5 separate regions of the Homo sapiens genome follow, and all the other regions are linked to region 1. The links are contacts of gene promoters, found by promoter capture Hi-C in human tissues and cell types (Jung and others, 2019). All regions are on one chromosome and are shown on one strand. Each heading gives the region's core, a stretch centred on a gene start or on the middle of the fragment in contact. The rest is flanking DNA. Distances are from core to core; before and after follow the strand shown. Region 1 holds the start of DDX28 (DEAD-box helicase 28). Region 2 overlaps CTCF (CCCTC-binding factor). Region 3 overlaps CTCF (CCCTC-binding factor). Region 4 overlaps PRMT7 (protein arginine methyltransferase 7). Region 5 overlaps LOC124903703 (a long non-coding RNA gene).

Evidence for each region. The method cuts DNA at HindIII sites, captures the fragments that hold promoters and counts their contacts. A contact is called where the count stands out against the background at its distance.
Region 2: a fragment that was not itself captured here is called in contact with the fragment with the promoter of DDX28 in region 1 in 1 of the 25 tissues and cell types used here (heart left ventricle).
Region 3: a contact is called between a fragment that was not itself captured here and the fragment with the promoter of DDX28 in region 1, in 3 of the 25 tissues and cell types used here (aorta, dorsolateral prefrontal cortex and spleen).
Region 4: a fragment that was not itself captured here is called in contact with the fragment with the promoter of DDX28 in region 1 in 2 of the 25 tissues and cell types used here (dorsolateral prefrontal cortex and lymphoblastoid cells).
Region 5: a contact is called between a fragment that was not itself captured here and the fragment with the promoter of DDX28 in region 1, in 1 of the 25 tissues and cell types used here (bladder).

What each region holds. Positions count from the first base shown.
Region 1 is chr16:68,019,193-68,025,184 of GRCh38, forward strand. It overlaps DDX28 (DEAD-box helicase 28), which reads right to left and starts at 4,040. Exons shown (of 1, transcript NM_018380.4): 1 at 1,724-4,040. The coding sequence starts at 4,010. The coding sequence ends at 2,388. It overlaps DUS2 (dihydrouridine synthase 2), which reads left to right and starts at 4,092. Exons shown (of 17, transcript NM_017803.5): 1 at 4,092-4,159. RefSeq lists enhancers at 2,741-3,491, 3,492-4,242, 3,953-4,192. The HindIII fragment of the contact is 9,907 bases long and covers 1-5,992 here.
Region 2 is chr16:67,588,412-67,593,723 of GRCh38, forward strand. All of the region lies in intron 2 of CTCF (CCCTC-binding factor), which reads left to right. Among named protein-coding and RNA genes, the nearest start is that of CTCF, 29 kb to the left of the region's middle. The HindIII fragment of the contact is 6,285 bases long and covers 665-5,312 here.
Region 3 is chr16:67,604,645-67,610,025 of GRCh38, forward strand. All of the region lies in intron 2 of CTCF (CCCTC-binding factor), which reads left to right. Among named protein-coding and RNA genes, the nearest start is that of CARMIL2, 38 kb to the right of the region's middle. The HindIII fragment of the contact is 5,706 bases long and covers 763-5,381 here.
Region 4 is chr16:68,326,875-68,333,007 of GRCh38, forward strand. It overlaps PRMT7 (protein arginine methyltransferase 7), which reads left to right. Exons shown (of 19, transcript NM_019023.5): 6 at 2,192-2,300. It also overlaps the pseudogene RNU4-30P. Among named protein-coding and RNA genes, the nearest start is that of PRMT7, 19 kb to the left of the region's middle. The HindIII fragment of the contact is 4,800 bases long and covers 1,782-6,133 here.
Region 5 is chr16:67,551,203-67,556,588 of GRCh38, forward strand. All of the region lies in intron 1 of LOC124903703 (a long non-coding RNA gene), which reads right to left. Among named protein-coding and RNA genes, the nearest start is that of CTCF-DT, 8.4 kb to the right of the region's middle. RefSeq lists enhancers at 994-1,495, 1,496-1,995. The HindIII fragment of the contact is 4,862 bases long and covers 1,514-5,386 here.

The DNA.
Region 1 (5,992 bases), core at 2,790-5,289:
GTGGTGTGCACCTCTAATCCCAGCTACTCAGGAGGCTGAGGCCCGAGAATTGCTTGAACTTGGGAGGCAGAGGTTGCAGTGAGCCGAGATTGTGCCACTGCACTCCAGCCTGGGTGACAGAGTTAAGACTCTGTTTCAAAAAAAAAAAAAAAGATAACAATACAAAATCATAACCTTATCATTACACTGCCCTCTCTTTAAATAGGCAAACAATGACAATCTTATCACTATGAAAGGATGAGGTTTAGCTCCCAGCAGCAGCCCAGGTCAGCACTGTGGAGAGGTACCAAAAGGTCATTAGGGCCAGGCGTGGCGGCTCACACCTGTAATCCTAGCACTTTGCGAGGTGGAGGCAGGAGTATCTCTTGAGCCCAGGAATTTGAGACCAGCGTGGGTAACATAGCTAGACCTTGTGTCTATTTTTTTTATATTTAAAAAAAGGCGATTTGGTCCTACTCAAAGGAAACAGGCAACTCTGCCCTTAGCCTGATCAGGACCACACTAGGAGCAGCCTTTGGTTCAGTGTGGCCAAGAACTTCCTACCAAAGAGAGATGACCTTAAGGAGAGGTCTCCCTATTACTGGCCTTGAAAAAGCAAACATGGGACATTTATTTAGTGGGGTTATTGCAGAGGGGATATGCCCAGGAGGTAGAGACGGCCCGATCTTTGGAGACTGGGTCACCCCGGTTGAGAATCATAGCACCTTCTCTCATAAGTTGCTTTAGTGTGGTGCTAATTGATGGCCTGCAGGGAGTGGTAGGAGGTAAAATATCAAGGGGATGGTTCCTGGGAAGTCTGTTCTGGCAGGAGGGCTAGCATGAGATCACTCAGATTCTCCAAGGCTCTGGAGAGAGTACTTGTCCGGAAGCATCCCTCTTGTCTTGTGGGGGTACAAAGCCTTACAGGAATTTGCTGGGACTCTGGGAAAGGCAGTACAGCATAGACAAATGGTTTATCAATTTGGGAGGGCCCAAGTATCACCTGGGGGAGTTTACAAAGAGTATTCTCAGGTCAAACTTTAGAGAGCTTAATCCCATCTGGAGTGGGGCTCAGGATTCTGTTATTTTTTTTGAGACAGAATATCAGCTCTGTCACCCAGGCTGGAGTGCAGAAGTGCAATTTTGGCTCACTGAAACCTTCGCCTCCAGAATTCAAGCCATTCTTGTGCCTCAGCCTCCCAAGTATTTGGGATTACAGGCGTGCACCACCACATTCAGCTAATTTTTTTGTATTTTTAATAGAGATGGGGTTTCGCATGTTTACCAGGCTGGTCTTAAACTCCTGACCTCAGGTGATCCTCCTGCCTCAGCCTCCCAAAGTGCTGGCATTACAGGCGTGAGCCACCACACCCGGCTTTTTTTTTTTTTTTTTTTTGAGATGGAGTCTTGCTCTGTCCCCTAGGCTGGAGTGTAGTGGTATGATCTTGGCTCACTGCAACCTCCGCCTCCCAGGTTCAAGTGATTCTCCTGCCTCAGCCTCCCGAGTAGCTGGGACTACAGGCGCGTGCCACCACGCCGGGTTGATTTTTGTAATTTTTTTTTGTGTATATATATATATACACATATATATATACACGTATATATATATACACGTATATATATATATACATATATATATATACGTATATATATGTATGTGTATATATATATATACGTATGTATATATATATATATATATATATATATACGTATATATATATATAAAGAAAATGCTATATGGTTATTTTTCCAGTTTTGTAAAACCGTTTAATCATCTCTCCTCTTTCTCGGCTACCGAGTTGGGATAGAAGGCAGAACCTGAAAATGTACAAGCAAAACTTCTGTGTTCGTCTACCCTTTACTTTTCTGCCAGTACCTTCCAGAGATTTCGCCAAGACGCCCGTTTGTCTTGGGCATTGTTAGAGAGTAACTCTGTCTACTGCTAGTCACATTTCCTTTCCTTTCCTTTCCCTGGGGGCTTAATGGATACCTTTTTGGGGGCAGGAAATACAAACTAAATGTTTATAAATGAAAACATCAACTGAAAGAGCCTTTGTCCTAGATGTGGAGGTTTGGTGTATGAATCCTCAGAAACTACTGAATTCCGCCCCGGTGCTAATTATTCTTAGGGGAGGCACATAAAAACATCATTTATTGTTAGAAATCATGACATGATACAAAGTCAAAATCCACTTGTGTCTTGCTAAAGACTACAGAAAGCCATGCTCAGCAGCTTCTTCTCCAATGCTGGCCAGCAGCGTACCTTTCCAAGTCACAAAGCAGTTCATCCCGCCCTCAAGGAGCCGACAGGGCAGCCCAGAGCCTCCCACTGACAAGTGTGGTCACCCACTCAAGATACTGGGAAAGATCCCTGTTCTAGCATCACATTTTAATCAGATTTGTCAAAATCAGGTTGCTTGGGGCAAAGGCTCTTTCACCGAGGATGCTAGTCCTGGAAGACTTCTCCTTCGGCGAGCCGCCAGCTCAATCTTCTGAACCAGGCTCACATCCCAGGGATGGGTCACAAAACTGATGACGGTGCCTGGCACCTCGCTCCCCACACGGCCCACTCTCCCTGCTCTGTGGATGTAATCTTGCAGCGTTGGGGGGAAATCATAATTGACAACCAGCTCCACACCAGTGCTGTCCAGGCCCCGAGAGGCTATGTCTGTGCAGAGAAGTATGTCTCGGGAGCTCTTCTGGAAGGACTGGAAGATTCCTACCCTCATCAAGGCTGGCATTTGCCCCTGCAACCTTAGGTGTTGGATTTTGTGGTCATCCAGAATATATCCCAGCCAGTTCACAGTGCTGGAGCTATTACAGAACACCAGAACAGTTCCTGAGGGACCAGTCCTTTCTGCTCTGTCACGATGCTTGAGGATGTGCACCAGCTCGGCCACCTTATCTGCTCCCTTCAGTCTCAGAAATGTCTGTTTCACATGAGGCATGATACAGTGGAGCTTGGAGCTGGTGATGGTGGTGACAGCATCTGGGCTGGCGACTTTATTCAGCAACTGGCCTACACCTTCGGGAAATGTGGCTCCTACCAGCACTAACTGAGCTTTGGGATTGAAGGGGTCTTCCAAGTCAGCTGGGCCTTCTGCTATGTGGCTCTTCTCTAAGATGTAGTCCACCAGTTCCAGGAAGCTTTCATCCAGCAGTGTGTCTGCCTCATCCAACACCAAGAAGGAGAGTTGCTCCAGACTGATCAGTCGACTTTTCAGGGCCTTCCACAGAGCCCCTGGAGTGGCCACAAGCACATCTGCTGAAGGCTGTCTGGACAGCTGCAGCCTGATCCTACGCATGCCGTGGCCTCCCTCCAGGTCCCGCACCAGCAGGCCCAAGGAGCGGCCCAAGGGTTGGGCCACAGCCCGCACCTGTTGGGCCAATTCTCGGGAAGGAACAAGGACCAGGCCTCGGGGCGCGGGGATAGGAAGGGAGTCCAGGCTTGGCTGGCCCAAGAGCCGTTGAAGCAGCGGCAGGAGGTAGCTGAGAGTCTTGCCACTGCCGGTTTCTGCGGCGCAAACGACATGGCGGCCGCGAAGTAGTGAGGGGATGGTGCTAGACTGCACGGTTGTGGGCTGAACGACTTCAGGCGCAGCCTCCTGTAGTGCGTGCAGCACACGGGGCTCCAGGCCCAGGTCAGCAAAGCTGCCCTTAGACGAGAGCTTTCGCACCGCTGGCGCCTCCTGTTGCGCGCGCTCGATGGAGAAGTGGTCCCGACGCGCGCGTCGACTCTTCCAGCCTTGAGAGGCTAGCGGCGCGCGCTCCCAACGGCCCAGTGTGAGGCGCGCCGGCTGGTTCAACTCCGGCCGCCGCGCCGAAACCAGCAGCGGTCCGGGTCGAACCAGCACCGGCCTCGGGAGGTTCCGCCGCCTGCTCTGCCGCTGTTCCAACTGCCGCTGTAGAGCCACTGGGATGCGCACCACCGGCAGGGGTTCGTCGGGACTGCGGACCGTGAGGCCCCGTCGCGGCGCCAGGAGCAACCGAGTCACGAGGGAAAAGAGCCGCACCGGCCGCGTTAGAGCCATGTTTCCCTTAGTGCGGGAGAAGCGCACATCAGTGACGTCACGGACGCGCCGCGACCTCGCGTACGGTGGCTGGCGAGGCTCAGTACGGTGTGTGGAGCTGGAGCACCGTGAGGAAGAAGCGAGGTTCTTTTTAAGAGTTCAGCTGCGAGGTCTGTAGCTCCGAATAGGGGATGGCGACATCCAGACCCGGCCAGCCTTGGGGAAGGGCGCGTCGTGGAGGCAGGACTGGAGGCTGGCGATACGAGGCGGCAGTGGGGCCTTGACCCAATGGACCATGAGGGCGGAGGGCTTCTGGCGATTGGTTACCTGGTTCCTGGGATTCTCTTTAGTTGTTCCTCATTGCCCTGAGATAGCTTGTCCCGTGCTGGTATCCGAGGTTGCAGCTGTTTTCCCAGATGTGTTCCCTGCGCAGGGTCTGGTAATCCGTGTTTATTGAGAGTTTGAATGAATGATCAGGCCTAGGGGCCGAGACAGGGGTCTGAAGTCATAGATCTGGGCTCAACCCCTCACCCTCTCTGTCTGTGAGCCCAGAGTGCAAGCTGATGGCTTTCAGCTTCTTCTCTCTCTCAAGTGGGAGATAAGGTCTTCAGGTTTTATTTCAAGTTGGGTCATCTTTTCTTCACAGTTATTTTCCTTCCTTTTAAGCCAAGGTTCACTCTCTACTCCCTCGTCACGCGTCCCAACTTCTCATCCAGAACCCACCCCTCTTGCAGCCCGCTCAGCTCCACTGGCTTCCCCGTCAGAAACCTGAATTACCTAAAATAGTAGTAAGAAGGGTGCTGCGACCCTACAAAGTGATCAAGTACGTGGCTTATCATGTAGCCCTGGTCAGGCAGAATATTTTACCTGAATTCAGATATTCGGGTTGTAAAAACAAGAACTATACGAGTCACTTTTTTTTTTTTTTTTTCTGAGACACAGTCTCGTTCTGTCACCCAGGCTGGAGTGCAGTGGCGCAATCTCGGCTCACTGCAACCTCCACCTCCTGGGTTCAGGTGATTCTCCTGCCTCTGCCTCCCAAGTAGCTGAGACTACAGCCGTACACCACCCACGCCCGGCTAATTTTTTCTGTTTTTAGTAGAGACAGGGTTTCACTATGTAGGCCTGGCTGGTCTCGAACTCCTGGCCTCAAGCGATCTTCCCACCTCGGCCTCCCAAAGTGATGGGATTATAAGCGTGAGCCACCATGCCCAACAGATACTTCTTGAACAGATCTGGAAAATGGGTGTCAGATCTTTTCTGTAATTTGCAGTGCCTGGGGTGGGAGATAAGGTAAATATTTATGGATTAACTCTCTGGGAGGTTCGTAACATCTGGAGAAAACGTTTTAGTTTCATCAAATACCAATGAAAAGATAAAAACTTTGCTTTTTTTGGAATAGTATGAGGAAAAACTTTCACAATTTTAAGTACACTCTACCCTTGTGCTACACAATTAGACTTTCTGGAGAGTTACCAGATAAATCAGAGGAAGAGAGGCTTTTTTTCTCCACAAGAAAATATCTGGAAGTAGGAAGAGAAAGTTTTGAGTAGTGATGGGTGAATGAACAGTCATTGGATAGGGTAGTGGTTCTAAAACAAGGGTGATTTTGCCCTTTCCCTCCCACCATATTTGACAATGGCTGGATACTTTTTTTTTTTTTTTTTTTATAGACAGTCTCACTGTGTTGCCCAGGCTGGAGTACAGTGGTGCGATGTCAGCTCACTGCAGTCTCTGCCTTCTGGGTTCAAGGGATTCTCCTGCATCAGCCATCTGAGTAGCTGGGATTAGAGGTGTGCGCTACCACTCCCAGCTAATTTTTGTATTTTTAATAGAGACAGGGTTTCACTACGTTGGGCAGGCTGGTCTCAAACTCCTGACCTCATGATTTGCCCACCTTGGTCTCCCAAAGTGCTGAGATTACAGGTGTGAGCCGCTGTGCCCGGCCCAATTCTATGCTACTTTTATGATTCTTTCCAAACTCAGGGCTTCTCCTTATCCAA
Region 2 (5,312 bases), core at 2,557-5,056, 430 kb before region 1:
GGGATATGGGTCTGCAGTGTGGCAAGGAGGGATCTGGTGGTCTCTAACATAGTCTCTTATTAGGGGAACAGAAAGTGAAGCTTAGGTTACTCTACACCAGCAAAAGTGTCATTTGGGCTATGGAGAGCAGAGAGAGGACAGCATGTACTTGGGAGGCAGCCTCCTGTTGGTACTATGGCACCAATGTTGACTCACAGATGAGCATTATCTTTGTAAATGTTCAATAAGTGAAATAAACAGGCTACCCTTAACAGAGGGCTCTGAAACCACATCAAAATAATATATATTTTTTTGATACAGATTCTCACTCTGTACCCCAGACTAGAGTGCAGTGGCGTGAACTCAGCTCACTGCAACCTCCACCTCCTGGGTTCAAGCGATTCTCATGCATCAGCCTCCCAAGTAGCTGGGATTACAGGTGCACGCCACCACACCCGGCTAATTTTTGTATTTTTTTTTAGTAGAGACAGGGTTTCGCTATGTTGGCCAGGCTGGTCTCGAACTTCTAACCTCAAGTGATCCACCCGCCTTGGCCTCCCAACATGCTGGGATTACAGGCGTGAGCCACCGTGCCCAGCCTCAAAATAATAAATTTGAGGCCTGGGTGTAATGGCTCATGCCCATAATCCCAACATGTTGGGAGGCTGAGGCAGGAAGATTGTTTGAAGCCAGAAGCTCAAGACCAGCCGAGGCAACAAAGCAAGACCCCACCTCTACAAAATAATAATAATAAAATAGTAGGGTGCAGTGGTGCATGCCTGTAGTGTCCCAACTACCCAGGAGGCTGAGGCAAGAGAGGCACTTGATCCCAGGAGTTCAAGGCTGTGGCAAGCTACGATTACACTACTGCGCTCACTCCAGTCTGGGAGACAGAGCAAGACCGCACCTCTTAAAAAAGATAAATAATTATAATAATATTAATTTGAGATGGCTTAATACAGTTCCACTCAGTTACATTAAATTTCTTCTGCACAAAATTGGTCTAATTCCATACATATTTTTGTTATATACCGTTCACCTGTTCTGTAGTTTGTCAGGCAAGGTCCACCTCATCATTTGATATCCAGCTGTAGCAATTCCTTTCCTTAAAGCCCTTCACCCACTGAAGTCATCCTTTATGCCAGGGTGGTAGGAAGTATGTTAACCGTTGTTACAGTACTCATCACACTATATAGCTGCTATTTGTTTTTCTTTCTGCCTGCCAGACAAGGAGCTCCCTAAGAACTGAACCTCGTGCAGAAGACAAAGCTTATCTGGGAGTCAGCTTTAGCACAGTACTGATTGAAGACTACCCCTAGTACATATGCTTGTACTCTCTCTCCCTTCCCTGCCTCCAGCCCCAAATGACGCTTCAACACCTAATACCCGATTTCTTCCATTAACTTGAAAAAGAGCCTGGACGCGGTGGCTCACACCTGTAATACCGGCATTTGGGGAGACCAAGATGGCTGGATCACCTAAGGTCAGGAGTTTGAGACCAGCTTGGCCAACATGGTGAAACCCTATCTCTACTAAAAATACAAAAATTAGCCTGGCATGATGGTGGGCATTTGTAGTCCCAGCTACTCAGGAGGCTGAGACAGGAGAATCACTTGAACGCAGGAGGCGGCCGTTGCAGTGAGCCAAGATGGCGCCATTGCACTCCAGACTGGTCAACAAGAGCGAAACTCCGTCTCAAAAAAAGAAAAAGAACAGTTAGAACTTTTTTTTTTTTTTTTAAAGAAGAGAGTTCCTTTCTACAGCAGCGTCAGCCACCTTTTGGCGAAAGAATTATTGTCTAGCCTTTATTATTCTTTGTAGCAAAAGAACTCCTTCCCCTCCTCCCATACTAGTTTCACTGTTGCCATTACAAATATTTTATTAGTACGTATTTCCTAGATTCAAAGCTTCAGTGGGCTTTCTTCAAGTAGCTGTTAGAATAATTGTTTTGTTTTGACCATACCCTTTAATATTAACAAATGGGAGGGGAGATTGTTAACAAAATACTAGAATGCTCTTAACTTTTTTTTTAACTTAGAAGAAACATTTTCATTTCCCTTTTAATTATTTCTACACACACACATACAAAAAGCCCTGTTATTTTATAATTTTTTATTTTTATTTTTTTAGTAGAGACAGGGTTTCACTGTGTTAGCCAGGATGGTCTCGATCTCCTGACCTTGTGATCTGCCCACCTCGGCCTCCCAAAGTGCTGGGATTACAGGCGTGAGCCACCGTGCCCGGCCCTAACTGTTCTTTTAAAAATTGGCCGAGCACGGTGATCGGCCAGGTGTGATGGCTCACACCTGTAATCCTAGCACTTTGGGAGGCTGAGGAGGGTGGATCAGCTGAGGTCAGAAGCTCAAGCCCAGCGTGGCCAACATGGCGAAACCCTGTCTCTACTAAAAATACAAATATTAGCCGGACATGATGTTTGGTGCCTGTAATCAATCCCAGCTACTTGGGAGGCTGAGGCGGGAGAATCGCTTGAACCCGGGAGGTGGAGGTTGCAGTAAGCTGAGATGGCACCATTGCACTCCAGCCTGGATGACAGAGTGAGACTCTGTCTCAAAAAAAAAAAAAAAAAAAAAAATGCTGGACTGGGTGGCTCACACAAATGCTGTGATTACAGGCGTGAGCCACCGTAATCCCAGCACTTTGGGAGGCCGAGGCGGGCAGATCACTTGAGGTCAGGAGTTTGAGACTAGCCTAGCCAACATGATGAAACCCCATCTCTACGAAAAATACAAAAATTAGCTAGTCGTGGTGATGCGTGCCTGTAATCCCAGCTACTCAGGAGGCTGAGGCTGAGAATTGCTTGAACACAGGAGGCAGAGATTGCAGTGAGCCAAGATCTCACCACTGCACTCCAGCCTGGGTGACAGAGCGAGACTCTGTCTCAAAAAATAAATGAAAATTAATGTCAGAGAAGTGAGAGGTACAGTTGTGATTAAATAGATGAGTGCTTTTTCAGATAAAGGCTGCTTCCGTTCCCAGTCACTGTGAAAGAAATGGTCACTATTATTTTTCTGCTTCTCAGCCCAAGTTATTCTCCCAATTCAACTCCTCCTCATTCTTTATTGTAGTCTACAACTTTCCTGGTACTAGTTCACTGATACTTTGCTTTGATGTATTTTAAGCTCTCAGATAAGATGATGGCGTATATGTTTTCAGGAATAGCAGAGTAAAATGGTTATTTTGTTTAACTTTTAAACCTAGCTTTTACTCTAAAAGAGTTAATAACTTTTATTCGTTTTGGCTAGTGTCCTGCATCTAGTAAAAGTTACTTAGCTTTTCCTTTCATCCTCAGGAAAAACTGATTACTTTTTTTGGGGGGGGGCAGTAAGGGCACAGAGTCTTGCGCTGTCACTCAGACTGGAATGCAGTGGTGTGATGATAGCTTACTGCAGCCTGGGCTCAGGCGATCCTCCCGCCTCAGTCCCGAGTAGCTGGGACTACAGATGGATGCCATCATACCTAGCTAATTTTTTTTTTAATTTTTAATGGAGACAAGGTCTCACTATGTTGCTCAGGCTGGTCTTGAACTCCTGGGCTCAAACGATTCTCTTGGCTCTGCCTCCCCAAGTACTGGGATTATATGTGTGAGCCACTGTGCCCGACCTGATGACTTATAATTGCTTTTTTTCCCCTCCTTGTCCTAATGTCATTTAACATTCTGTATAGTGAGAATACCAGACTAAGCTTTTCAGTCAACATTTTTCTAATGTAAAGATCTATCGACTGGACGCAGTGGCTCACACCTGTAAACCCAGCACTTTGGGAGGATGAGGCGGGCACATCACCTGAGGTCAGGAGTTTGAGACCAGCCTGGCCAACATAGTGAAACCCTGTCTCTACTAAAAATACAAAAATTTGCTGGGCATAGTGGTGTACGCCTGTGATCCCAGCTGCTCAGGAGGCTGAGGCAGGAGAATTGCTTGAACCCTGGAGGCAGAGGTTGCAGTGGCCGGGATTGTGCCACTGCGCTCCAGCCTGGGTGGCAGAGCAAGAATCTGTCTAAAAAAATAAATAAGGCCAGGCACAGTGGCTCATGCCTGTAATCCCAGTAATTTAGGAGGCTGAGGTGGGAGGATCACCAGAGCTCAGAAGTTTGAGACCATCCTGACCAGTATGGTGAAACCCTGTCTCTACTAAAAATATAAAAATTAGCCGGCATGGTGGCATGCGCCTGTAGTCCCAGCCACTCGGGAGGCTGAGACATTAGAATTATTTGAGCCCAGGAGGCGGAAGTCGCAGTGAGCCAAGATCGTGCCACTGCACTGCAGCCTGGGTGACAGAGTGAGACTCCGTCTCAAAAACAACAACATCAAAAAAAGATACTTACAGAGGCCAGGCGTTGGTGACTGGCTCAACGTCAGTAATCTCAGCACTTTGGGAGGCCGAGGTGGGTGGATCACTTGAGCTCAGGAGTTTGAGACCAGCCTGGCCAACATGGTGAAACCCCGTCTCTACTAAAAATACAAAAATTAGCGGGGCACAGTGGCATGTGCCTGTAGTCCCAGCTACTTAGGAGGCTGAGGCAGGAGAATCGGTTGAACCTGGAGGCAGGGGTTGCAGTGAGCCGAGATCGCGCCACTGCATTCCAGCCTGGGTGACAGAGTGAAACTCCATCTGGAAAAAAAAAATTTATATATATATGTATAAATGTTTAATATATATTTTATATTTATATATTTGTATATCTTTTTTATATTTTAATATATGGTTTTTAATATATATTTTATACATATAAAGAGAAAGGTGCAAGGTATCTTCTGTTCTCTTAAAATTTTTTACAATTTCAACTTTTATTTTAGATTCGGGGGTACATGTCCAAGTTTTTTTGTGTACATGGGTATATTGTGTGATTATGAGGTTTGGGGGTACAATTGTTGCTCATCACCCAGGTAATGAGCATAGTACCCAATGATTAGTTTTGCAGCCCTTACCCCGTTTTCTCCCTCCCCCTCCTAATCCCTAAGGCCTATTGTTATGTTTATGTCCATGTGTACCCAGTGTGTAGCTTCCACTTGTAAGTGAGAACATGAGATACTTGGTTTTCTGTTCCTGCCTTAATTCGCTTAGGATAATGACCTCCAGCTGCATCTGTGTTGCTGTAAAGGACATTATTTCATTCTTTTTTATGGCTGTGCGTTCTCTGCCTTCTTATGATGTCTGAGGGTTCGTATCAACCTCTGTTAGGCCATTTGTTAGGTACCCTTCATGTTGACTTTCAGAATTTCTGTGGCTTGTGAAAGTTCATGGGGTCTTAGAGCTGCTAATGTATTTCTTACCAAGAGAATGCAGATAGACTTCTGATCTCCCCAGGAAAT
Region 3 (5,381 bases), core at 2,366-4,865, 410 kb before region 1:
ATTTTTTAAATTGATGAAACCTTGAAATGATATTTTGGACATACCAGGTTAAGTAAAATAGATTACTAAAATTAATTTCACCAGGGTTTTTTTTTTTTTTGTTTTTTGTTTTTTTTTTTTACTTTTTAATATGAATTTTTTTTACTTAAAATTACATATAATGTGGCTTATGTTTGTGGCTTGCATTATATTTCTATTGAACAGTGCCAGCCTAGAGAATTTATATTCTAAAGATAATCTGTCTGAACAGTACTGAGTATATAAAATTAATTATAGTTAGGATTATGCTTAGTCTTTTACAATCAGAGGTATAAATGGGATTTTTTTTTTTTTTTTTTTTTTTTTTTTGAGACAGTCTCGCTCTGTCTCCCAGGCTGGAGTGCAGTGGCGCAATCTCGGCTCATGGCAAGCTTCGCCTTCCGGGTTCACGCCATTCTCCTGCCTCAGCCTCCCGAGTAGCTGGGACTACAGGCACCCGCCACCACTCCTGGCTAATTTTTTGTATTTTTTAGTAGAGATGGTGTTTCACCGTGTTAGCCAGGATGGTCTCGGTCTCCTGACCTCATGATCCACCCGCCTTCGCCTCCCAAAGTGCTGGGATTACAGGCGTGAGCCACCACGCTTGGCCTAAATGACATCTTATAATAAAAATACTAGCACTTTGCTCATTTTTAATTTATAGGTGAATTATAAAGCATTCTACAAATGTTCTTTGATCCCCACCTTCTGCGGTAACATTTTTTTATATTTGTCCCCACTGTCATGGAACAGCATAGTAAGAAGCCTTTGCATTGGATGTTGTTGTATTTTTCTCTTGGTTGTTGAGAACAAGGGACTAATGAAAGAAAGAAGGTAATGGAAGAATAAACCAAACTGGCAATCCAACAACCTCGGGAGTTTACCTTGAGCCTTGTTTTTTTCCAGGCAGATGGTGGGGTTTGCTGAATCTGTCCAAAAGTATATGTTGCTTCAAGCCCGGCTTTTGCCCTTAAAGAGCTTTCACACCCAACTGGGAAAATAGATCGTTTTGAGAAAATTTTAAGTGCTAAACTGTGTCCTTATTTTATCAGAAACACATTTGGAGCAAAGTAGTGGCCACAAGAACCTCAGAAAGCTTTGTTGTGCCAGGGATGAGCTGGTGTTGAGAGGAGTGGATCAGACGTAAAGTACAGAGTGAAGACAGGGAGATGACAGTAGGAACTGTGTCTGGATGAAAAGACAGCTTGACTGAAGGGGAGAGTGCTAGAGGGCAAGACATAAATCTGAATAGGTTATCATGGGGTCAGGTACGAAGGGGCTTTGTGAGCCAGAAGGGTGGTAAGTGCATCATGTAGTTTTTGCAAAAGTAGAGACACACTTTTTGAGGAAATTAAGTCTTCTTCTTTGTGAAATGAGTGAATCTTTACTTCTCTGCCCAGAAAGCATAAGTGGTTTTCCATTGCCAGTCATCTGAGGTATTTTGTTATTCAAGACCATCCAAACTATGGGGGGCAACCAGCACATCTTTCACCTGTCTTACTACCCTCTCCTCTGTCCTGTGCTTTAAGCCAGTTCTTTTTCTTACTCATAACTAATTCCCACATGTATTTATTGTACCCAGAAATCCAAACCTTTCCCCTACAGAATACATCCTCTGCCCTCCACTGTCAAACTCTGCCTTTAAATGTCCTGCTCACGTTTCAGGGTTCCGTTCAAATTCCACATTTATGAAGCATTTTTCTATCACACCTGGTTATGTTATCTTTCTCCAAACCTATGTAATTTCACCTTGAACCATTGTGCTACCTATTTTGTCCTTTATGTTAGACAGTAACTCCTAGAATGTAGGACCAGGCCTCCCAAAATGCTGGGATTACAGGCGTGAGCCACCACGCCCGGCCCCTATTTTGCTCTTGTTTAGGTAATGTCATTCTCTCTGTAGTAGTTCTTGTGCTGCCTCTCAGGTGGTCCTGGCTTAAGGAGTCTTCTCTGACTGCTATCATGGATATAATACAATGTTAAGGTGCCTAGACAGAGAATTGGAGAAAAGTGTGTCTAATAGAACTAACAAAAGCTTCGTTTGAGCTGTATTCTTGGCCAAAAATACAAAACACTTCAATGTTTTGTTTTGGGTTTTTTTTTTTTTTTTTTTTGAGACATAGTTTCACTCTTATCGCCCAGGCTCCAGGCTGGAGTGCAGTGGCACTCGGCTCACTGCAATCTCCGCCTCCAGGCTTCAAGCAATTCTCGAGCCTCACTCAGCCTTCCAAGTAGCTGGGATTAGAGGCACACCCCACCACACTCAGCTATATATGTTTTATTTTATTTTAATTATTATTATTTTTTTGAGACAGAGGCTCGCTCTGTTGCCCTGGCTGGAGGGAGTACAGTGGCCCAATCTCAGCTCACTGCAACCTCCACCTCCCAGGTTCAAGCAATTCTTCTGCCTCGGCCTCCTGAGTAGCTGGGATTACAGGCATGTGCCACCACACCTGGCTAATTTTTGTATTTTTAATAGAAACGGGGTTTTGCCGTGTTGGCCAGGCTTGTCTCCATCTCCTGACTTCAAGTGATCTGCCCGCCTCGGCCTCCCAAAATGCTGGGATTACAGGCCTGAGCCACCACGCCTGGCCCCTATTTTACTCTTGTTTAGGTAATGTCATTCACAAGATTTTTGTTTGTTTTTTATTTTTTGTTTTTGAGACCGAGTCTCACTCTGTCGCCCAGGCTGGAATGCAGGGGCACTTTCTCAGCTCGCTGCAACCTCCACCTCCAGGGTTCAAGTTCTTTTCGTGCCTCAGCCTCCCAAGTAGCTGGGATTACAGGTGCACACCACTACGCCTGGCTAATTTTTGTATTTTTAGTAGAGATGGGGTTTTGCCATGTTAGCCAGGCTGGTCTTGAACTCCTGGCCTCAACTGATCCACCAGCCTTGGCCTCCCAAAGTGCTGGGATTACAGGCGTGAGCTACCGTGCCCGGCCCATTCACAAGATATAAGAGCCAAAAACTATGAATTGGCTGATTTGTTTTCTGCTTTCTATTATATATTCAATTTGGTTGGCATTTATTGAGTACTTACCATCCTGGGCACAGTGCTAAAGAGTAAAAACCGTGGCTGGGCGTGGTGGCTCACGCCTGTAGTCCCAGCACTTTGGGAGGCCGAGGCGGACAGATCACGAGGTCAGAAGTTCAAGACCAGCCTGGCCAACATAGTGAAACCCCGTATCTGCTAAAAATACAGAAAATTAGCCAGGTGTGGTGGTGGGCACCTGTAATCCCAACTACTCCGGAGGCTGAAGCAGGAGAATCACTTAAACCTGGGAGGCAGAGGTTGCAGTGAGCCAAGATCACGCCATTGCACTCCAGCCTGGGCGACAGTGCGAGACTCCGACTCAAAAAAAAAAAAAAAGTAAAAACCGGTTGGGCGCAGTGGCTCACACCTGTAATCCCAGCACTTTGGGAGGCCGAGGCAGGCGGATCACGAGGTCAGGAAATCGAGACCATCCTGGCTAACATGGTGAAACCCCGTCTCTACTAAAAATACAAAAAATTAGCCGGGCATGGTGGTGGGCGCCTGTAGTCCCAGCTACTCGGGAGGCTGAGGCAGGAGAATGGCGTGAACCTGGGAGGCGGAGCTTGCAGTGAGCGGAGATCGTGCCACTGCACCCTAGCCTGGGCAACAGAGCGAGACTCCGTCTCAAAAAAAAAATTAAAAAAAAAAAAACGACTTGTTAGATGTGGTTCTTATTCTCAGGGAATTCCTGATCTCATTGTCAGGAGAGAGGTGAATGTCAAGTTGATGGTATGACATGGGCAGTTTTGTGCAGTGTCTACAAACACGGCCATTGCAGTCTGGATCTAAGTTCTGAGTTTGGCTTCAAAAAACAAGGTCAAAAACCCTTGACAGGGTGGGGAAAATGGGGAATTGCTGTTGAGTGGGTATAAAGTTTCAGTTATGCAAGATGAGTAAGTTCTAGAGATCTGCTACACAACATAGTTCCTGTATTAATCGTATAGCATTATGCACTTTGAATTATGTTGAGGATGGATCTCATGATAAATATTATCACCAAAAACAAAATACAAGGAAATTTTGGAGGTGTATTTAGTGTTTTTTTTTTTCTTTTTTGAGACGGAGTTTCGTTCTTGTTGCCCAGGCTGCACAGTACAATGGCGCAATCTTGGCTCACCGCAACCTCCACCTCCCGGGTCAAACGATTCTCCTGCCTCAGCCTCCCAAGTAGCCAGGATTACATACAGGCATGCACCATCACACCTGGCTAATTTTGTATTTTTACTTAGGACGGGGTTTCTCCATGTTGTTCAGGGTGGTCTCGTACTCCCGACCTCAGGTGATCCACACACCTCAGCCTCCCAAAGTGCTGGGATTATAGGCGTGAGCCACCACGTGCTTAATAAAGCTACCTTAATAAAGCTTTTTACAAAACATTGGCAGACCCGGGCACAGTGGCTCAGTCACATGTATAATCCCAGCACTTTGGGAGGCTTAGGTGGGAGGATTGCTTCAGCCCAGGAGTTCAAGGCCAGTCTGGAAATGTGGCAAGACCCCATAATTGCAGAAAATTAAGCTAATTCATATATGCATCATCTCACATCCTTGTCATTTTTTGTGATGAGAACACTTAAAAATCTGCTCTCAGTTATTTTCAGGTATACGTTATTATTAACTGTAATATTCATGTTGTATAATAGATCTCTTGAACTTATTCCCACTGAAATTATATGTCCTTTACCAGTGTCTTCCCCACTACATGTGTAAGATTTAAATTAGTTTTGTTAGTAATTCTTTAATATCATCAGATATCCAGAGTTGAAATTTCTAATTGTCTTGTGTCACATCTTTTTCACCATTTATTGGTTTGAATCAGGATCCAAAGAAGATTCATGCATTGTGATTGATTACTGTCTCTTTAAGACTCTTTTATCTGTATCAGAGTTTCTCAGCCTCAGTGCTCTTGACATCTTGGGCCTGATAATTCTTTTTTTTTTTTTTTTTGAGATGGAATCTCGCTCTGTCGCCCAGGCTGGAGTGCAGTGGCGCGATCTTGGCTCACTGCAAGCTCCGCCTCCCAGGTTCACGCCATTCTCCTGCCTCAGCCTCCCAAGAGCTGGGACTACAGGCGCCCACCACCACGCCCGGCTAATTTTTTTGTATTTTTTAGTAGAGACGGGGTTTCACCGTGTTAGCCAGGATGGTCTCGATCTCCTGACCTCCGGTAATCTGCCCGCCTCAGCCTCCCAAAGTGCTGGGATTACAGGCGTGAGCCACCGTGCCCGGCCTGGCCTGATAATTCTTTGTGGTGGAGGACTGACCTGTGTCTTGGAGGATGTTTAATAGCATCTCTAGCTTTCACCCACGAGATAACAGTAGCACATCCCA
Region 4 (6,133 bases), core at 2,932-5,431, 310 kb after region 1:
CAGGGAGAGGTGACTGATGAGTCAGAAGGCAGCAGGGGTGAGGGACGACACTGGCTTTGGATATTGTCAGGGTGGAGGCAAAGTGATTGGTGAGAACTAGGGTTTAAGGCCCTCAAACCACATCTAAAAACATCAAGGCAAATCCTAGAAATAATTTGAAATAGATGATGAAGATTTTTCTAGGAGAACATGTGTGTGTATTCCATGTAAATACTGCGCGCTAATCAATTGCACAACTGGAGCTGCTCACGTAAGTACTCTTTACGAAAGGATACAGCATTTGTCCCTTGATTATAGTAAAAAATATAGTATTCATGGTAGAAAATGTGGGAAATACAGAAAAGGATTTAGAAAAAAGGAAAATCTTATCAGGAACAGTCTCGGTATCATTTTGTGGTTTCCACTTCGTGTGTAGGGCCACACGTGAGTCTGTTTGTTTTACATGCTAGAGCTCTTGGGGCTGTGGAATCTAGACTGGATAAGTTGAAAACAAAGAGTTGGAGGTGCTTATTTATGTTCAGGGAAACTCGAAGAGTTCAGGGAAGACTTCTGGATGGGGGATTCATGCTGCCCTGGGAAGTGGGGTTTGATTTGGCAGGTGGGGCCAGGATAGGGAAGGCTCAGTGATCATGAGATCATTGTGGCTGGAGTGTTGGTTGTTGGGGGAATGGGGGAGGAAGACTGGGAAGGTAAGGGAGGGCCTCCAAAGCAGTAGTTTCCCCTTATCTATGGTTTCACTTTTCGTGATTTCAGTTACCTGTGGTCAACTGAGGTCCAAAAATACTAAATGGAGCCAGGTGCGGTGGCTCACGCCTGTAATCCCAGCACTTTGGGTGGCTGAGACAGGTGGAAACCTTGAGTCCCAGAGTTGGAGACCAGCCTGGGCAACATGGCAAAACCCCGCCTCTACAAAAAGTAGCTGGGCATGGTGATCTACGCCTGTAGTCCCAGCTACTTGGGAGATTGAGGTGGGAAATTGCTTGAGCCTGGGAGGTGGAAGCTGCAGTGATCATGCCACTGGACTCCAGCCTGGACAATAGAGTGAGACCCTTCTCAAAAAAAAAAAAAAGAAAAATTAAATGGAAAATTCCAGAAATTATTTATAAGTTGTAAGTTGTGTACCATTCTGAGTATTATTACATAATTGTTCTATTTTTAGTTATTGTTAATTTATAAATTATTATTTATATTTATTATTGTGCCTAATTTATAAATTAAACCTGGTCATAGGTAAGCTTGGAGGCTGAAGCAGCTCCACTGTGAATGCTAATCCTCCACGCTGACTTCTGACCAACCCCAGCTTCAGGAATGCCTCTAAAATTTCCGCTCTCATGCACTTTGATGTAAATCCTGCCCTCAGGTCAGAACAACTTTGATGTTATCATAAATACATACTTACCGTAAATCCTGCCCTTCGTCAAATTCCCTGTGGTATGTAAGCCCTGCGTCTGAGCCATAACAGTGTGGGGGCCCAGTTTCTCACTGCCCGAGACAAGGCTTCTGTTTGTATGTCTCTATAAAGTGTGTCTTTCTGAGAAGCTGGATTTGCCAGTCTTTCCTCAGCCTCTCAGCTCCCGTGGCCTGTTGGGGTAGGTTTGCATAGAGCTGCCCACCATGGAACAGTATGTATGTATAGCAAAAAAAAAAAAAAAAAAAAAATGGTATACATAAGGGTCAGTACTGTCTGAGGTTTCAAGCATCCACCAAGGGTCTTAAAATGTATCCCCCATGGACAAGAGGCACTGCTGCACCATAAGAAAATAGAGGCTGTGTTCTGCCAACAGTGGGGATTTGGGACAATTTTGAGCCCAGAGGATGACCTACTTACTCACACCTACAGTCTGCTCTCCTCTGGAGGGCACAGCACGCCTCCCAGGTTCGTGAGGCAAGTCCCTTTCCTGGCTTTTTGGCGTCCTCTTGTGCGGTACTGACACCTACTGCTCTTACTAAGTAGTGCAGCCTCCTCAGGATCCCCGGCATCCCCGCTGTGCCTGGCACGGAATGAGAGTCCCTAATCACAAGTTAAAGCCAGCTGAATCTCAGCCCTTTTTCATGATGCACATTTGGAGAATAAAGTATTTAAGTTACATATCTTAGGACCAGAATCAAGGAATAGCTTGCTCACCTTAAAGGTCAGACTACTGTTTAATTTATTGCTCATTTTTCCTTGGGTTTCGGCTCTATTTTCTAGGTTTTCAAGCCTATGGCTGATGCTGCTGTGAAGATTGTGGAGAAAAATGGCTTTAGTGATAAGATTAAGGTTATCAACAAGCATTCCACCGAGGTGACTGTAGGTCCAGGTGAGATTTACACACCCTGTGTTGAAAGCTTTGCTTGCTCTTGTGTGAGAGAGGAAAAGGGTTATTCCAGTTACCTGGAACAAATCCAGGTCATAGCATAGAAGTGGGACCTCTCTGTGTGGAGCTCTGACAGTAAGGACTTGGTTTCTCTTGATGTTTATTTTCCTGCTAGTTAAAACTAGTCAACAAGGAGTAGACTAGAGCTAGTCAGGTCCAGCAATGGAGACGCAAACAAAACCTACATTTGCTTTAAGCAAATTGGAATTCTTATGGGGCTCAACTCTTGAGTTTCAACTACCAATAATTACGCCTTGGATAAACCTCATTGGCTACGATACTGCCACTGCTCAAAGCTCAACTCTGAGTTTCATCAGGCAGAAAGTACTTAGTTCTTTTATTTATTTATTTTTTTGAGAGAGAGTCTCACTCTGTCGCCCAGGCTGGAGTGCAGTGGCGCTATCTTGCCTCACTGCAAGCTCTGCCTCCTGGGTTCACCCATCCTGGCTAACACGGTGAAACTCTATCTCTACTAAAAATACAAAAAATTAGCCAGGCATGGTGGTGGGCACCTGTAGTCCCAGCTACTGGAGAGGCTGAGGCAGGAGAATGGCGAGAGTAGTTCTGACATTCTGCTTCTGCATACAACATGAACAATTTTCCTGTATAGCATTGTCTCTTAAGGTTTCCAGAATATGTATATGTACACACACACACACACACACACATATTTTTTTTTTGAGACGGAATCTCACTGTGTCACCCAGGCTGCATTGCAGTGGTGCAATCTTGGCTCACTGCATCCTCCACCTCCTGGGTACAAGTGATTCTCCTGCCTCAGCCTCCCAAGTAGCGGTGATTACAGGTGCCTGCCACCACACCTGGCTGCTTTTTGTATTTTTAGCAGAGACGGGGTTTCACCATGTTGGCCAGGCTGGTCTTGAACCCCTGACCTCAGGTGATCCGCCTGCCTCAGCCTCCCAAAGTGCTAGGATTATAAGCGTGAGCCACCATGCCTGGCCTCCAGAATATTTTTTATAGTCTAGAACTTTGTTTCAGTCTTTGAAAATTTCACATGCCACTGACACTTAGAGAACATAGTTGAAAGATTTGCAAAGGAAAAACTGTGGTGAAGTTATGGATAACACCATGGGTTTTTTCTAATTTTTTGTGGAGATAGGGTCTTACTATGTTGCCCAGGCTGGACTCAAACTCTTATGCTAAAGTGATCCTCCCATCTCAGCGACCCAAGTACCTGGGACTACAGGTGTGCACTACTGCACCTGGCTTTTTCACCACGGTTTTGGAGAATGCAGTATCATTCTGAATTGAAGCTTCTACCTAAGGTCAACATTATTCTCCCATTTAACAATTTTTTTTTAATGGAGAATCTGAAACATGTACAAAAGAAGTGGGTACTATCTTATTTATTTATTTATTTGAGACAGAGTCTCACTCTGTTGCCCAGGCTGGAGTGCAATGGCAGGATCTCAGCTCACTGCAACCTCTGCCTCCCATGTTCAAGCGATTCTCCTGCTTCAGCCTCATGAGTAGCTGGGATTACAGGCGTGCACCACCATGCCTGGCTAATTTTTGTATTTTTAGTGGAGACGGGGTTTCACCGTGTTGGCCAGGCTAGTCCCGAACTCCTGACCTCAGGTGACCAGCCTGCCTCGGCCTCCGAAAGTGCTGGGATTACAGGTGTGAGCCACCGCGCCCGGCCTATCTTTTTTATTTTTAAAATATACAATAGAGTGCTCAAATCATTCCATTTACAATCAACGTTATTGAAGTATGATTTACATTAAATGAATATCCATTTTCATTATGGATATTTGACAAATATAAACACACTTGTAACCACCATCACCATAATGAAGATAATAGAACATCTCCATCATGCCCAAAGAGATTCCTCATAACCCTTTCTATCAGTCCCCCCATATCCTGGTCCTAGGCACCCACTCATAGACTTCATTATAGATTAGATTTGCCTGTCTAGGATTTCAAGGAAGTGGAATCAAAGAAGTGTGGACTCTTCTGTGTGTGTGCTCTCTTTTTTATAGCGTGATGCTGGTAAGATTCTTCCACACTGTTCATGTCTTGGGGGTCCGTTCTTTTGTGTTACTGAGCAGCACTCTATTAGATAGATGTACCATAACTTGTTTATCTCTCTACCTGTTGATGGACAGGGATTTCTTGGATAGGTCTTTAGATTCACTGATCTTTTCTTTTGCAGCATCTAATATGCTGTTAAGTATATTTAGTAAACTTTTCATTTCTCTTTCTTTGTTGTTCTTTTTTTTTTTTTTTTGAGACAGGATCTTGACCTGTCCCCCAGGCTGGAGTGCAGGGGTGTGAGCATGGCTTATTGCAGCTTTGACCTCCTGGGCTCAAGCAGTCCTCCTGCTTCAGCCTCCTGTGTAGCTGGGACCACAGGCTCATGCCACCATGCCTGGCTAACTTAAAAAAAATTTTTTTTTGTAGAGATGGGATCTCAGTTTGTTGCTTAGGCTGGTCTCAAACTCCTGGGCTCAAGCGATTCTCCCACCTCAGCATCCCAAAGTCCTAGGATTACAGGCGTGGGCCGCTGTGCCTGGCCTCATTTTTGATATTGTATTTTTTAATCTCTGAAAGTTCCACTTGATTCTTTTTCATAACTTCCATTTTTCTCATGTTCATAGTTTTCTATAAGCACATTTATTTTAGCTTTTTGAACATCCTTATCTTCTGTTCCCACCATCTTTGTTTTTTCTGGGTTTGTTCTCTTGACTCATTTTTATCCTTATTCTGGGTCACATTTTCCTTCTTCACATGTCTAACCATTTTTGTTTGGATGCTGTGGCTATTTGGAATTCCCCATTGTTGAGTGCTAGACTTCGTTGGTTTTGCTTTTTAAACTTTGGCATGCAGTTGGGTTACTTGCAGTTCAGATTGATCCTTTCAGGGCTTGTTTAAGCTTTCTTTGGAGTGGGGTTAGAGTAGCTTTAAGTCAGGCCTTCTCAACAGTAGTGCTGTGACGTTTTGGCATTCTCCAACTATGTGACATTTTGATAATTCTTTGTTGTGGACCCTGTCCTTTGCATTGTAGGATGTTTAGCAGTGTCCCTGGCCTCTTCCCAGTGGATGTCAGTAGCACTCCCCTCCTCCCACCATTCTTGCCAACTAAAAATGTCTCCAGACTGCCACGTCTTCCTTGGTCTCGAGTGTGTAAAATTGCCACCTGTTGAGAACCACTGCTCTAAGGCTGTTTAGCCAGACAGTTACTGTAACCTTTCTGGAGTGTCTGCTGAGAGCTCTAGGTGCTCAGCAGGGTTTCCCTTGTCTGGCTGATCAGAACTTGAATGTTTCCCAGGCCTCTGAGAGCTCCGGAGATTGTTATCACTCATGCAACCTTTGCTCGGCTTCACAGAGTATTACCCTGTGTGTGTGTGAATGTATTAACACAGACCCTAGAGGAACCCTGTGCAGCATTCTGAAGGCTTTTTTTCTGTGTAATTTCCTCTCTGATTCTCTGCCTGGCAAGTTCCAGCTGCTTCCACTTCCCTGAACTCGTTTCCTGTCTGTTTAACTCAGCAAGACTGCCGTGCTCTGTGTCACCTCTTACCCTATACTGTGGTCTGGAAAGGGTCTCCTGGCTGATAGCCAGAGCAGGGTAAGGGTTACTTGGTTTGTTTCCCTTCTTAGGGAGCAAACTGTGTTGCCTCTTGCTCAACATCTGAAAACACTTGTTTCATATATTTTGCCCAGTTTTCTAGTTGATAACAGCCGGAGGGTAAGCCTGATCCCACTTATTCCACTATGGCCAGAGTGGAGATTGATTCATTTATTTATTT
Region 5 (5,386 bases), core at 2,695-5,194, 470 kb before region 1:
ACTTGGTCCAAGTGTTTTGTTTTGTTTTTGGGACAGGGTCTTGCTCTGTTGTCCTGGCTGGAGTGCAGTGGTATGATCATAGCTCACCGTAACCTTGAACTCCTGGGCTCAAGGGATCCTCCTACCTCAGCCTACCAAGTAGCTGGGACTATAGGCACACACCACTATGCCCTGCTAAAGAGGTGGTCTCACTATGTCGCCCAGGCTGGCCTCAAGTGATCCTCCCACCTTGGCCTTCTAAAGTGCTGGGATCACAGGTATGAGGCATCACACCCAGCCTTTTTATTTTTTTTAAACAGCTCTTTTTGAGATTTAGCGCACCTACCATGCAATTCAACCATTTAAAGTGTACAATTTGGCCAGGCGCAGTGGCTCATGCCTATAATCCCAGCACTTTTGGAGGCCAAGGCAGGTGGACTACCTGAGGTCAGGAGTTCCAGACCAGCCTGGCCAACATGGTGAAACCCCATGTTGTCTCTACTTAAAAAATACAAAAATTAGCTGGGCATGGTAGTGGATGCTTCTAATCCCAGCTACTTGGGAGGCTGAGGCAGAAGAATCTCTTGAACCCGGGAGGTGGAGGTTGCGGTGAGTTAGATCATGCCACTGCACTCCAACCTAGGTGAAGAGTGAGACTCCATCTCAAAAAAATAAATAAATACTTAAAGTGTACAATTCAATGGCTTTTAGTATATTCAGAGTTGCACAGCCATCACCACAATTTTAGAACATTTTCATCAACCCAAAAAGAAACCCTGCACCCCTTAGCTGTCATCCCTGCGCTTCCATATTCTCCACCCTACCCCCAGGCAACCACTAATCTACTTTCTGTCTCTACAGATTTGCCTATCCTGGATATGTCTTACAAATGAAATCAGGTTAGGGCTTTCCAACTTACCCAGTTCTAAGATTCACCTGAGAACTTCCCTGGAGATTCCAATTCAGCAAATCTGGCGTAGGGCCAGCCAATTCTCTATTTGTTCAGGCTGCATCTGCCTTTGCTATGCCCAGCACCCAAGGCCAGATACACAGTAAGTGGTCCAGAAATATCTTCTGATGAATACCTCTAAAACCTGTCTCTAGCTCTGGTTTCCCTTACATACACCTCCCCAACTGATGGCCTTGTCTTATGTCAAAAGCAACCTGAAAAGCACTTTGAGTGTGAAAGTACCATATGTTCAGTGTGGAAGAAGCCTGGAAACTCAAACACTCTCCCTAGTCCCCCCCATGGGGCATAGCGCTTTAGAATGCACTTTCACCACCAGGATCCCAATTAAGGAATGGAACAGAAGCCTGAGGAGGGGACAACAGAGGGAGGGAGGACTGAGGTCAGACTGGTGGAGGAAGCAAGCAAGCTGAATCCCCAGGGGCCAGAGGGGGCAGTTAGAGATGAGGCTGAGGGGGTGAGCAGGGGCTTGGTGAGCATGGGAGGCCTTGTGGAGTGGCTGAGTTTGGAATTTATCCCAGGGTACCGGGGAGCCACCAGTGGGCTTGAAGCAGGGGGGTTTTGTGATCACGTGTGTGCTTTGGGAAGGTCACTCTGGCAGCTGTGAGAGGGAGGAGGCCGGAAGCAGGGAGGAGCCTGCAGTTACATTAGAAGAAGCAAGAGTCTGGGCCTGGTGGCTCACGCTTATAATCCCAGCACTTTGGGAGGCTGAAGCAGGTGGATTGCTTGAGCTCAGGAGTTTGAGACCAGCCTAGGCAACATGGCAAAACCCCATCTCTACAAAAAATACAAAAATTAGCTGGGCACGGTGGTGTGCACCTGTAGCATCAGCTACTGAGGAGGCTGAAGCAGGAGGATAACTTGAGCCTGGGAGGTTAGGGCTGCGTGAGCTGTGACTGCACCACTGCCTGATAGCCTGGGCAACAGAGTGAGACCCCATCTCAAAAAAAAAAAAAAAAAAGAAGCAAGAGTAGCCTGGGCCAGAGTGGGTAAAGGCTAGAAGCAGAGGCTTGAAAGTCATGCTCGCTTTAGCATGCGGTTTCATATGACTACTGTGATGTCCAGTGACTGCTCCGCTCCATTCCTTCCACACCTGTAGCCTATACCTTTACACTTCCCTTTTCATCCTTGACTTTTACCTTCTAATACTCAAGGTTTAGTCTGATATTTCCACACTAATATAAAACGAAATAGAAGGCACTCGAGGGCTAGGGACATCCTCTATCTATCTCTGGTAGTACCTAACCTTGAACATAGACCTGGGTCCTAAGCAGTTATTCAGGACATACTTGTAGATTAATAAGTCATCACCTAAATACCTCTGCTGTCTGCCTGAGAGCCTGAAGTTTCCACAATTAAAGCCCTTCCCAGCCTGGGCAACATAGTGAGACCCTGTCTCTATAAATAATTCTTTTTTTTTTAATTAGCCAGACATGGTGGCATGTGCCTGTAGTCCTAGCGACTCAGGAGGATTGCTTGAGCCCAGGAGTTAAAGGCTGCAGTGAGCTATGATTACGCCATTGCACTTCAGCCTGGGTGACAGAGTGAGATCCCATCTTTTTTTTTTTTTTTTTTCCTGAGACAGAGTCTCGCTCTGTCGCCCAGGCTGGAGTGCAGTGGTGCAATCTTGGCTCACTGCAACCTCTACCTCCCAGGTTCAAGTGATTCCCCTGCCTCAGCCTGCTGAGTAGATGGGATGACAGGCACACACCACCACAACCAGCTAATTTTTGTATTTTTAGTAGAGACGGGGTTTCACCATGTTGGTCAGGCTGGTCTCGAACTCCTGACCTCGTGATCCACCCACCTTAGCCTCCCAAAGTGCTGGGATTATAGGCCGTGATTGCCATCACACCAAGCCTACAGTCCCCCATTTTTTATGGGGGATATGTTCCAAGCTCTCTGGTGGATGTCTGAAATCAAGGATAGTCCTGAATCCTATATATAGTATGTGTTATCAATCTGATAACTGAGATGGCTACTAAGTGGCTAATAGGTGGGTAGTATATACAGCATGGGTATGCTGGACAATGGAACGAGTCACATTCCAGGCAGTATGCAGCAGGATGTTGTGAGATTTCACCACTCTACTCAGAATGGTGTGCAATTCGAAACATGATTTCTGGAAGTTTCCATTTAGTATTTTCAGACTGCAGTTGACCATGTGTAACCAATAGCAGAAAATAGCAGAAAGTGAAGCTGTGAACAAGGGGGAGACTACTGTACTCATTCTGATTTTGCCAACAAGTTGCCGGACAACCCTGAGCAAGTCACTTCATTTCTGAATTTAGGACAAAACTGCCTGGCTGATCAAATAGAGCTGTGAGCATCACTTGAAAAGGCAGACATGAAGGTGTTTTGCAAAATGAAAAATATAGAGATGGATTATAAAGGGTGATCCATGCATGTTTGGAAAAGTAAGTAACAGCACAGAAAACAAAATCAACTTCTAAAACATTGGATATAGGTTTAGCAACAGTCCTTTATACCTTTAAGAGCAGTCATTTGAGCTGAGAGGTAAAAAATAAATATGGCTGGCCGGGGTAACCCCAGCACTTTGGGAGGCTGAGGCGGGCAGATCACAAGGTCAGGAGATCGAGACCATCCTGGCTAACAGGGTGAAACCCCATCTCTACTAAAAATACAAAAACATTAGCTGGGCATGGTGGCACATACCTGTAGTCCCAGCTACTCAGGAGGCTGAGGCAGGAGAATTGCTTGAATCTGGGAGGCGGAAGCTGCAGTGAGTCGAGATCTCGCCACTGCACTCCAGCCTGAGCGACACAGCGAGACTCCACCTCAAAATAAATAAATAAATAAATAGGCCGGCGTGGTGGCTCACGACTGTAATCCCAGCTCTTTGGGAGGCTGAGGTGGGCAGATCACATGAGGTTGGGAATTCCAGATCAGCCTGACTAACATGGAGAAACCCCGTCTCTACTAAAAATACAAAATTAGCCGGGCATGGTGGCGCATGCCTGTAATCCCAGCTACTTGGGAGGCTGAGGCGGGAGAATTGCTTGAACCCGGGAGGTGGAGGTTGTGGTGAGCCAAAATCATGCCATTGTACTCCAGCCTGGGCAACAAGAGCAAAACTCCGTCTCAAAATAAATAAATAAATAAATAAATAAATAAATAAATAAATAAATAAATAAGGCTTTCACAGGGGTCTGAAGAAAGCAGACATTAATAAGGAAAAAAACTCCTACAGTCTAGGCAGGAGATGATATGGAAGGATGAGTCTTTAAAATGTTAGAATAGGCCGGGCTTGGTGGCTCATGCCTGTAATCCCAGCACTTTGGGAGGCCGAGGCAGGCAGATCGTGAGGTCAGGAGATTGAGACCAGCCTGGCCAACATGGTGAAACCCATCTCTACTAAAAATACAAAAATTAGCTGGGCATGGTGGTGCGTGTCTGTAATCCCAGCAATTTGGGAGGTTCAGGCAGGAGAATTGCTTAAACCTGGGAGGCAGAGGTTGCAATGAGCCAAGATTGCACCACTGCACTCCAGGCTGGGCAACAGAGCAAGACTCCATCTTGGGGAAAAAAAAAATTTAAATGTTAGAAGTGGTTAGGCTTGGCAGTTGATGTTGGCAGACAATGAAAGCTTTCCAAATGTCTTTAAAGGTTTAGCATCACTACTCTACACCCTCATCCAATGGTGTAAGATGACTCGCTGTCCCCCAAATACTCTTGTAGACTTTTATGCCTTTGATCATGGCTCTTCACCTTACATGTCTTCGTGTCACTTGTTAATGCTTTGCTAATCCTTTAGACCCAGCTGAAATGAGATACTCCTGGAGTGATTTACTCCTTTAGCTGTGAGCTCATTTCTTTCCACTATAACAGTTATTGCATTAATTTTTTGTGTGTTTGTTTTAACCAGTTTTACTAGTTAAATTTTGAGTCCAAGGGCAGGAAACACATCGTGAGTCATCTTTGAATCTCCAGTGCCTAGAACAGGAAGCTACACACACCAAGTATTCAATAATTACTTGATGAGCTGCATCATGTCTCACACATGTTCTCAACAGGTATAGAGAAAACCAGAGTGTTCACATGTAACTTTAGGCCTTACCCCAAGGAGGGCAGGAAGATTCCCTGCTCATTATGTCTTAGAAAATCAATATGTCTCCCCTTCGTTTGTTGATTATCTTGATTAAAGAGTTTTTAAAAAACATGTAAATGATCATAATTATTGCAAGCTTTACAGGGGTAACAATAGGAGCCAAGGAAGATCTTGGAAATACAACTGTTCTCCTGAGAATCATAGGATAATGATTTCTGGCTGGGTGCAGTGGCTCATGCCTGTAATCCCAGCACTTTGGGAGGCTGAGGTAGGAGGATTGCTTCACACCAGGAGTTCGAGACCAGCCTGGGCAACATAGTAAGACCCCCATCTCTACAAAAAACAAAAAACCTTAGCCAGGTGTGTTGGCA